Linked DNA regions of Homo sapiens: all the other regions are linked to region 1. The links are contacts of gene promoters, found by promoter capture Hi-C in blood cells and fetal thymus (Javierre and others, 2016). All regions are on one chromosome and are shown on one strand. The core of a region is centred on a gene start or on the middle of the fragment in contact, and the rest is flanking DNA. Distances in the headings are between cores, read along the strand shown.

Region 1 (2,569 bases), core at 36-2,535:
TCCTCCCCCCAGATTCTCCTCTACTACAACTCCCCTCACCTGGATTTTGAGCTACTTGAGGGTAGGGACTATTTTTCCAATTCTGTGGCAACAGTGCCTAGCCCAGAGCTTTGCACAAAGCACTATGCTGAATAAATGGTTGAATTTATTAAATCGTCTTCCTCCTTCACTTATCTTTTTAAAATATTGGGCAATTACCTCAGCAAAATGCAATTCCCCTGTCTTTCCCTTCATTTTACTCGTGAGTCGAAAAGTTGTCCTCATCAAGAAGTTGTAGTAATTCAACTGTAACAAGGCTACAAGGATTCATCTCTAACAGAGAAAAAAAAAGGTCAAAAGTTGGGAGTGAAATTAGCCCTAATAAACAACCATTTTCCTCAACCTTTAAGTCACTTGGAAGTGCTTGGCATTCCCCACCTATGTCTTTATCCAGCTCTTGTAACATATTTTTACTCAAAAGGTTAAGTTTCTTAAAGACACATATAGTTACTCGTTTGTACTTAAGTTGTATTGTCTATCTGTTCTAAATTGTTATTTATAGCAGTTTATGTGGCCACTGTTTTTCATGGCAACAACATAGCTTCATTATGGATTAAATAGGCTTCTTCTGGGCTGGTGTAGATCACATTTCTATGCCTATTTATGACACTGTTTCCAGGGGGAACTATAATTTCCAATTAGAAAAAAATATATACATTCTTCCATACCTTTCAAGTGATTTTAATGCAGGTGGTTCACAAGGAACACACTTTAACAATTTTAAAGGACTATAACTCTCAATTAAAATTCTAAGCTTACCAAAGAATAAACATCATCTTTTGAAAAACACTTAAAACTCAATAACAATTTCAAATCACGATAGAAAGTGCTTCCCGCAAAATGCTAAGAGCTTAACCGACATGAAAATAAATCTAGAGCCTTCGTCTGTCCCCACAAGCACAAACCCATAACCCCAAGAGAGATTCTCTAGACAGTGCACCCAAACTACAATACCCAGAATACCCTTCCCCGTCTGAACGCTGGGGACAATCGGAAGGGGAGGGGAAGAATTGTGCGTATAGAGAAATAAGTGTCCCGCAACTCCATCTCCCATAATTCTCGGTCCTCACTTGTGTCTGTCTGCCAATGTCAACACGAGTTACCCCCAGGAAGAACAGCCTCCAGCGACCTCAAACTACATTTCCCATGAAGCCATGGGCTCGGGCCTCCGGCTTCCCCGGTGACCAGTAGCCAATAGGAGACGCCGCAGTGGGCACCCTGTGTGTGAGAGTCCAGCCTTGGGCCAGAGTGCCGGGTCTAGGCCTGGAAGCGCGAGGCGGGCATTTCGGAAGAGAGTGGCGCGGCGTGGGGCGCCGCGAGGGCACTACGAGCCCAGGAACTGCCGCGCCGGCCCGATTTTCCGCGGCTGTATAAGGACTAGCGCTTCGGTAGCCGGGGAGCTGGAGGTCAGAGAGGCAGAAAGCCCCGGTGGCCGTGGCTGGGGACTGTGGGACTGAGGGGGCCTAGGGAGGAGGGTGCTTCCGGGGCCGCGGTCCTCAGCGCCTAACTCCACCCAGCTCCACCTCTGCAGGGGAGGGGGTATCGGGACTGGGAGTCGGGGGTGGGCTTTTGAGCTCTAGGCGCCAGTTCTCTTGAGCCCGGGAGCGCGCTGTCTTTGCTCTTTTTTTTTTTTTTTTTTGGTCCAACTCGCCCGCCCCTTTTTTTTTTTCCCACGACGCCGCCCCCCTCCCCCTGGCTCTGTGCCTCCTCAGAGGTCCGAAGTTGGGGTTTGCGTCCAGGGTTTTGCCTAGGCGGTGACTGGACTCTAATTCTTACCGCAGGAATTGGGTGATCTCTTTCCTCTTTTCCCTCAATTTGTATTTCAGGTTTGGGCACATAACCCTCCCTGCGCTACACTCCCCATTTTCTTTGGGGCATGGGAATTCCTTGCCACGCTCAGGGCGTGACTTTTTTTTTTCAAACTTTCTCTTTTTGCCTCCTTAATTGATCGCCATCTCTTTACTGGCCCCTCAGCCACCTGCCACTTCCCCCACCAGGTCTTTGAAGTGGGGAGAGTTTCCCCTCAATTTCTAGAAGGGATGGGAAGCAAAAGAGGGAAGGAATCTTGCTTTTGAGAAATGTGTGTTTAAGGTTCAGTGCAGGGTTCTGGTGAGAGTAAAAGGCAAGTTAGACTGGTTATAAAAATCCAGCGCTTTAGGGGTTTCCAGCAAAGACTGATAGCACTAATGTTGACAAACATTTAGGGGGCACACCTTTATTCTACAGAATAAAGTAGACCGTGTGAAACAGACCATATTAATCATTGTATTATTACAAACGTGTGCAAAAAACGCTAAGAGGGGTCAGTGGAAGAGCATACTGATGGGGGTGGTGAGTTCATCTATGGAAGTTCAAGCCTAACCCGGGAAGTGCTGAAGCCCTCATCCGGCTTTCAGGCTTTGTGAAGGAGGTGAATTTTAATCTGGGCTCCAGCAGAGTACAGGGGATTTGAAGTTGTCAAAGAGGAGGGAGAAAATGCTTCCTGCTACTGAGATTGGACTTTGAGAAGGGTAAACAGAAGAGGGAGCAC
Region 2 (2,569 bases), core at 30-2,529, about 11 Mb after region 1:
TTATTAGAAGGTGTTGCATGTTAACAGTACCAAGGAATTCCAGGTTACCATAAAGGCATTCATCATCAGAAAGGGTGACCTTTGGACAGTTTGCCAAAAACCAGGGCTTCCGAAATACGGGCATTTCGACAGAAGTCGATATTAAGTGGAAAGACAGGTTTTCTGAAAACGGCACGCAATTTTTGTCATTTGCTCCCGGGTTCTTCCAATATGGGAATGCGTCAAATGTACGTGTCCAGGTGACACTGGGACTCGGTTTCGTTTCGTTTATGTGTCCCCCTCCTCCCACTCAGGGTGGCCCCAGAGACAGCACAAGTCGGTCTGAACCCACTCCGAAGATATGCGATTCGACTGTGGAAAAGCCATTCCACATCACTGTGAAACCCTTGACCGAGGGCCAGTTCGGAGGAGCTGGTGACGGTGGAAAGAGATAAAAGCCATCCGCGAGGGAGTGAAACAAACCGACACGCGGCTCCCTGCGGCAGCTGAACCTCATCTCCCTTCCTCCACCTCCCTCTTCCCCATATGGACCCTGCCAGCTGCAACCGAGGTTTTTAACCCCAATTCACGTGCAAAGCAAGCTTCTTGCAAATACAGACGGAGGTACAAACAGCAGAGTGAGGGCGGGAGGAATATGGGGTACCAGGGAAAGTAGAAGGTGGCGAACGGCAGGGTGGGGTGTTGGGGGGGGGATGAAGCGAAGCAGGCGGCATTGTTGTGCCCCGGGAAGGGGACGGAAGGGGAGGATGGGCCTGGCAGAAAAGCTCTAAATCAAAGTAGGGGCTAGGGGAGTAAAAGAGGCACAAAAAAGCAGCGAGAGGGGCGAGGGAAAAGCCAAGTGGGTCTCTGTGATGGATTCCCCAAGCCCCGGGGCCTACCCAGGGCACCGGCAGCCCCTCGGCCCCTAACGGCGAAGGGGACCGCGCCGCGGCCCTCGCGGCTCGTCCCCTCCTTCGCTCCCCGGCCCACACAAAGAAAGAGCCGGAGGAGCTGAGCCTCCGACTCTGCCGCTTCCTGGTTCAAGTGAGGCGAATGCAAACGCAGGCGCGGCCCAGGGACGGAGAAGGCAAGCGCGCTCCTTCGCCCCCTCCCTGATTGGGGCCGGGTCCTCACCTGCTTCCCGGCGCCGCCGCTTCTCCTCCTCCGGACGCGCGGAAGGCTGGGAGTCCCCCAACAAGAAGAAGCCGCACTCCCCAGCGATTCTGCCCCTTCTTTAAACGTCGCTCCAGTCTGGGTCGACGTCGACGCGGCCGCCGCCTCCTGCCGCCAACGCTGCTACAGCTGCCCCACGCCGCCGACAGAGGGCACAGCGCGGGGGCGAAGCGCTGAAGCCAAAGGCGCCCTCCTCTTCCGAGCGCAGGCCGGGGTGGTCCGGAAGGGCCCGAGCTTGAGGCGGCTCCACTTCGGCGCCGTGCTCTGCCTTCGGTTCTTTCCGCAAGGGGGCGGAGGAAGACTGGGAAGCTCTTGTGTGTTCGGCTCTTTCCGGAGGGCTAACGGGTGGGAAAAAAGGAAAGGGAAAGATCGGGTAAGACAGTCGCAAGCAATTGGATGGAAGGGAAGCGAGTCGTTTTCATCGAAATTCAATGTGAACTTCTAGGGCATACAAACTTTTAGAGACTATACAGGTTTCATTTATTTTGCAAGTTTGAATCTGCTCTATTAGACTGTTTGCTAGATGATAAACCATCTTGAAATATAATCAAAATACATACAATCAAATAGAAATTCACAACTTCTTATGGTAATTCAAGTTCTGGGATAACAAGAGAGCAACTACATTACAGTAACTACTTTTAAGAAAGAAATTTAGTGTTTGGACAACTATCTTCTTAATTGAATACTAAATGGTGCAGTACTATGTTAATTCCCTCATTCCAACTAGCATTTACTGACCCCCTGCTTGATCTGTAGCAAAAACCCTATGTTAGGCTCTCGGGAATACAAAAATGAATAACCCAAAGGTCTCTACCTCTTTAGGGAGCTCAGTAGGTAGGTACACAAACATGGACAAAAATATTTGTACAAGGTGTAGAAGCAGAGAGAAGAGAATAGCAAATTGAATGCTGTCATTTGACCTGTATCTTGAAAGATTAATAATATTAACACTTGCATTTTTAATTTTTTATTGTTACTATTTTAATTTTTTATTATTACTATTTCCATAACATTTCATCTTCAGAGGGCTTTAGTGTCTGACACATAGTATGTGTTCAGTGATTGTTTAATGACCGAAAAAATACATTGTGAGTTACATAATTTTTTAAAATCCTCTGGTAATACCCTTCCAACTGAGTACCATAATAAATGAAGCAACAGGATGGGTGTTTGGAGAGCAAAATGTTTCCCTTTTAGGCTGGTTATTGATCGTATTCAACTAAGGAACCAAATAGTAACTTTTTTTCTGCCATAATTAAGGCCATTCACTACCTTCATTATCTTTTTAAAAAGATATATATAGGATAATACTGCATTCATTTCCAAAATCTTAAATTTGTACCTATTAATACCTTGCAGTGGAATTCCTGTGCTTCTTTCCTAAAAAATCTTGCTGAAAATGTCCATCAGGATA
Region 3 (2,569 bases), core at 47-2,546, about 10 Mb after region 1:
ACCCTAATGTAAACTAAGGACTTGCGTTAATAATAATGTATCAATGCTGGTTCAATTGTTACAAATGTATCATTCCAAAACAAGATGTTATTCATAGGGGAATCTGAACTGGGGAGAGGGAACTCTATTCTTTCTGCTTACTTTTTCTGGAAACCTAAAACTGCTCTAAAAAATAAAAGCCTGTTAATTTAAAAAAAAACTACAAGGGGATGAGGAGAAGTTGGTTAAGGGGTATAAAAATACAGGTCGATAAGTTCTAGTATTCGAGAGTACAATAAGGAAATTATATTTAACAATGATTTACTCTATATTTCAAAATAGCTAGAAGAATTGTAATCTTCTCAACACAAAGATAAACGTTTGAGGTGACAGATACCCTAATTACCCTGATTTGATCATTACACGCTGTATAAAGGTATCAAATATCACATGTACCCCTAAAATATGTACAACTATTATAAATATATATAGGTGGTGGGGGATACAGGCACCACAACAGCAGACAATGTACAGCTATGACGTATCAATTTTTAAAAACTATGTAACAGAGAGCCCAATTTTAAAAAAAAATGCATTTACACACATCACAGGAAATACCTGGACGGAAGGACACTTAGTCAATGCTTTCCCATATATAGACTTTTCTCTATTAGGCAAATAGATACAAATATAAAAGATGAAAATGCTCACAATGCTTATCACAGTTTGTAAATACATATTTGCGTAATTATCTAATTGTTGTTTATTCTCCAAACTAGACTATTAGTTTCTTAAGGACAGAGACAATGTCTTTGCTTCCCATTGTATTCTCAGCACCTAGCTGAATGCCTAGCACATAGTAAGTTCAATAAATATTTGTCTTTTTTTTTTTTTTTTTTTTTTTGAGACTAAGTCTCGCTCTTGTTCCCCAGGCTAGAGTGCAATGGCGTGATCTCTGCTCACTGCAACCTCCGCCTCGCGGGTTGAAGTGATTCTCCTGCCTCAGCCTCCCGAGTAGCTGGGATTACAGGCACCTGTGACCACGCCCGGCTAACTTTTGTATGTTTAGTAGAGACGGGGTTTCACCATGTTGGCCAGGCTGGTCTCGAACTCCTGATCTCAGGTGATCCACCCGCCTTGGCCTCCCAAAGTGCTGGGATTACAGGCGTGAGCCTCCGTGCCCGGCAATAAATATTTGTTGAATGAATTAATAAATGATCTTTCTTGGGCTTTCTGGAATGCATGAGAGAATCTGCATTTTTCAGATTTACCACAAGATGGGCATTCATTTTAGTTTTACATCCATTATTACCTAGTACTAATAAATAATGAGTCAATTATCAGAAGTCACTCTAAACTCTTTTTGTGTCTTTCAGTATTCCCAAATGCATATTTCTGTTTTTCTCCCCCAGCAGTGTCTTATCTGATTAAATGCATATTTCTTACAAGACTTTACATTTGAATATTGCAATAGGAGTAAAATTTCAAAAAATAAAAATAAAAAAACCTTACATTTGTGAAGTAATCTTAGGGTTGGATAAAAAGGCCCTTCTCTTTGTCTAAAAAAGAGTAATTCTCCATTTACTGTAAGGATTTCTATATGTTCATGGCTGTAAGACAAATGTCACAAAGTACCAAGTTAGATATTTTCTTTCAAAAATTCACAATATAAAACACGCATATACAGTGATAAACTTTCTTAAAAAGTCAGTAAAAATCCTGGCCAAAAAATATTGTTTACATTGTTTTTCCTATCATGCAAGTCCAGTAGAGAAAAAAAGAAAAATATTACCTGCTACAACCAATTTTATTTCACATTTTATTAATTCCATTGTTAGGTAATTCAATAAAACAATTCTCTAAACAACAAACTGAAATAAATTAAATCCAACTCTGAACTAAAACATTTAACTCTTTACTAGAACAATCAATACACAAAGCCACATTTTTTCAGGGACATAGAAAATCTTTGAAAATACAAATATTGGAGTTTTAGAGTTATTCTGTGTCTACCCCATTATTAATCTATCAATAGTTAATCTGAAAATAATTCCATTTAGTATGAGTGCAATCTAATCATTAAATATTCAGCTATACCGAGCTTTACACAGACAAAAACAAAGACTTACCATCGGACTATTTTGACAGGATCTTTCTTAGGCATGATTTGATTAAGCCATGGTTCAATACCTGGAAATTGCTCTATCAATTGATTCTTAATACCCTTAATAACTGAAGTTTTCAACTGGATGCAGTTGGACACATTTTCTTTTTCATCAAATCTGCCAAGTAATTTTTGCAAGAAAAGAAAAGGCATTTCTAAGTAGAGGTATCAGAATACCTAAAGGTACTGTTCTAATTAGTCATTTATTCCCAACCAAGTATTTAGATACTTAATTATGAAATAAATTGTTCTTTTAAAAAAAAATACCATCTCCCTTTTACTCTGTCCAGCACAAAACCAATGTCTTAATACAATATTGAAATAAACTGTCAAGTATACAGCAATTAGCTGGGGTTAGGGGGAGGAATATGAGACATACTTTGCACCATAATCTGTAATTAGCTACACAAATGCCTTTCCTGGAAA

The links. Contacts are between HindIII fragments. The CHiCAGO score rates a contact against its expected background, and 5 or more counts as called.
Region 2: the fragment with the promoter of ZBTB33 here is called in contact with the fragment with the promoter of ENOX2 in region 1 in 4 of 17 cell types (activated CD4 T cells, non-activated CD4 T cells, naive CD4 T cells and 1 more); the score reaches 8.2 in activated CD4 T cells.
Region 3: a contact is called between a fragment that was not itself captured here and the fragment with the promoter of ENOX2 in region 1, in 1 of 17 cell types (naive CD8 T cells). The highest score is 5.6, in naive CD8 T cells.

Annotation. Positions count from the first base shown.
Region 1 is chrX:130,901,925-130,904,493 of GRCh38, reverse strand. ENOX2 (ecto-NOX disulfide-thiol exchanger 2) reads left to right here and starts at 1,285. Exons shown (of 15, transcript NM_006375.4): 1 at 1,285-1,445. RefSeq lists enhancers at 1,070-1,259, 880-1,399, 1,270-1,539, 1,400-1,919. The HindIII fragment of the contact is 1,854 bases long and covers 796-2,569 here.
Region 2 is chrX:120,249,522-120,252,090 of GRCh38, reverse strand. ZBTB33 (zinc finger and BTB domain containing 33) reads right to left here and starts at 1,279. Exons shown (of 3, transcript NM_001184742.2): 1 at 1,114-1,279. It also overlaps a transcript of TMEM255A not described here. RefSeq lists an enhancer at 734-1,572. The HindIII fragment of the contact is 5,064 bases long and covers 584-2,569 here.
Region 3 is chrX:120,605,099-120,607,667 of GRCh38, reverse strand. It overlaps MCTS1 (MCTS1 re-initiation and release factor), which reads right to left. Exons shown (of 6, transcript NM_014060.3): 2 at 2,109-2,261; 3 at 1,492-1,589. Among named protein-coding and RNA genes, the nearest start is that of MCTS1, 2.3 kb to the right of the region's middle. The HindIII fragment of the contact is 3,910 bases long and covers 1-2,569 here.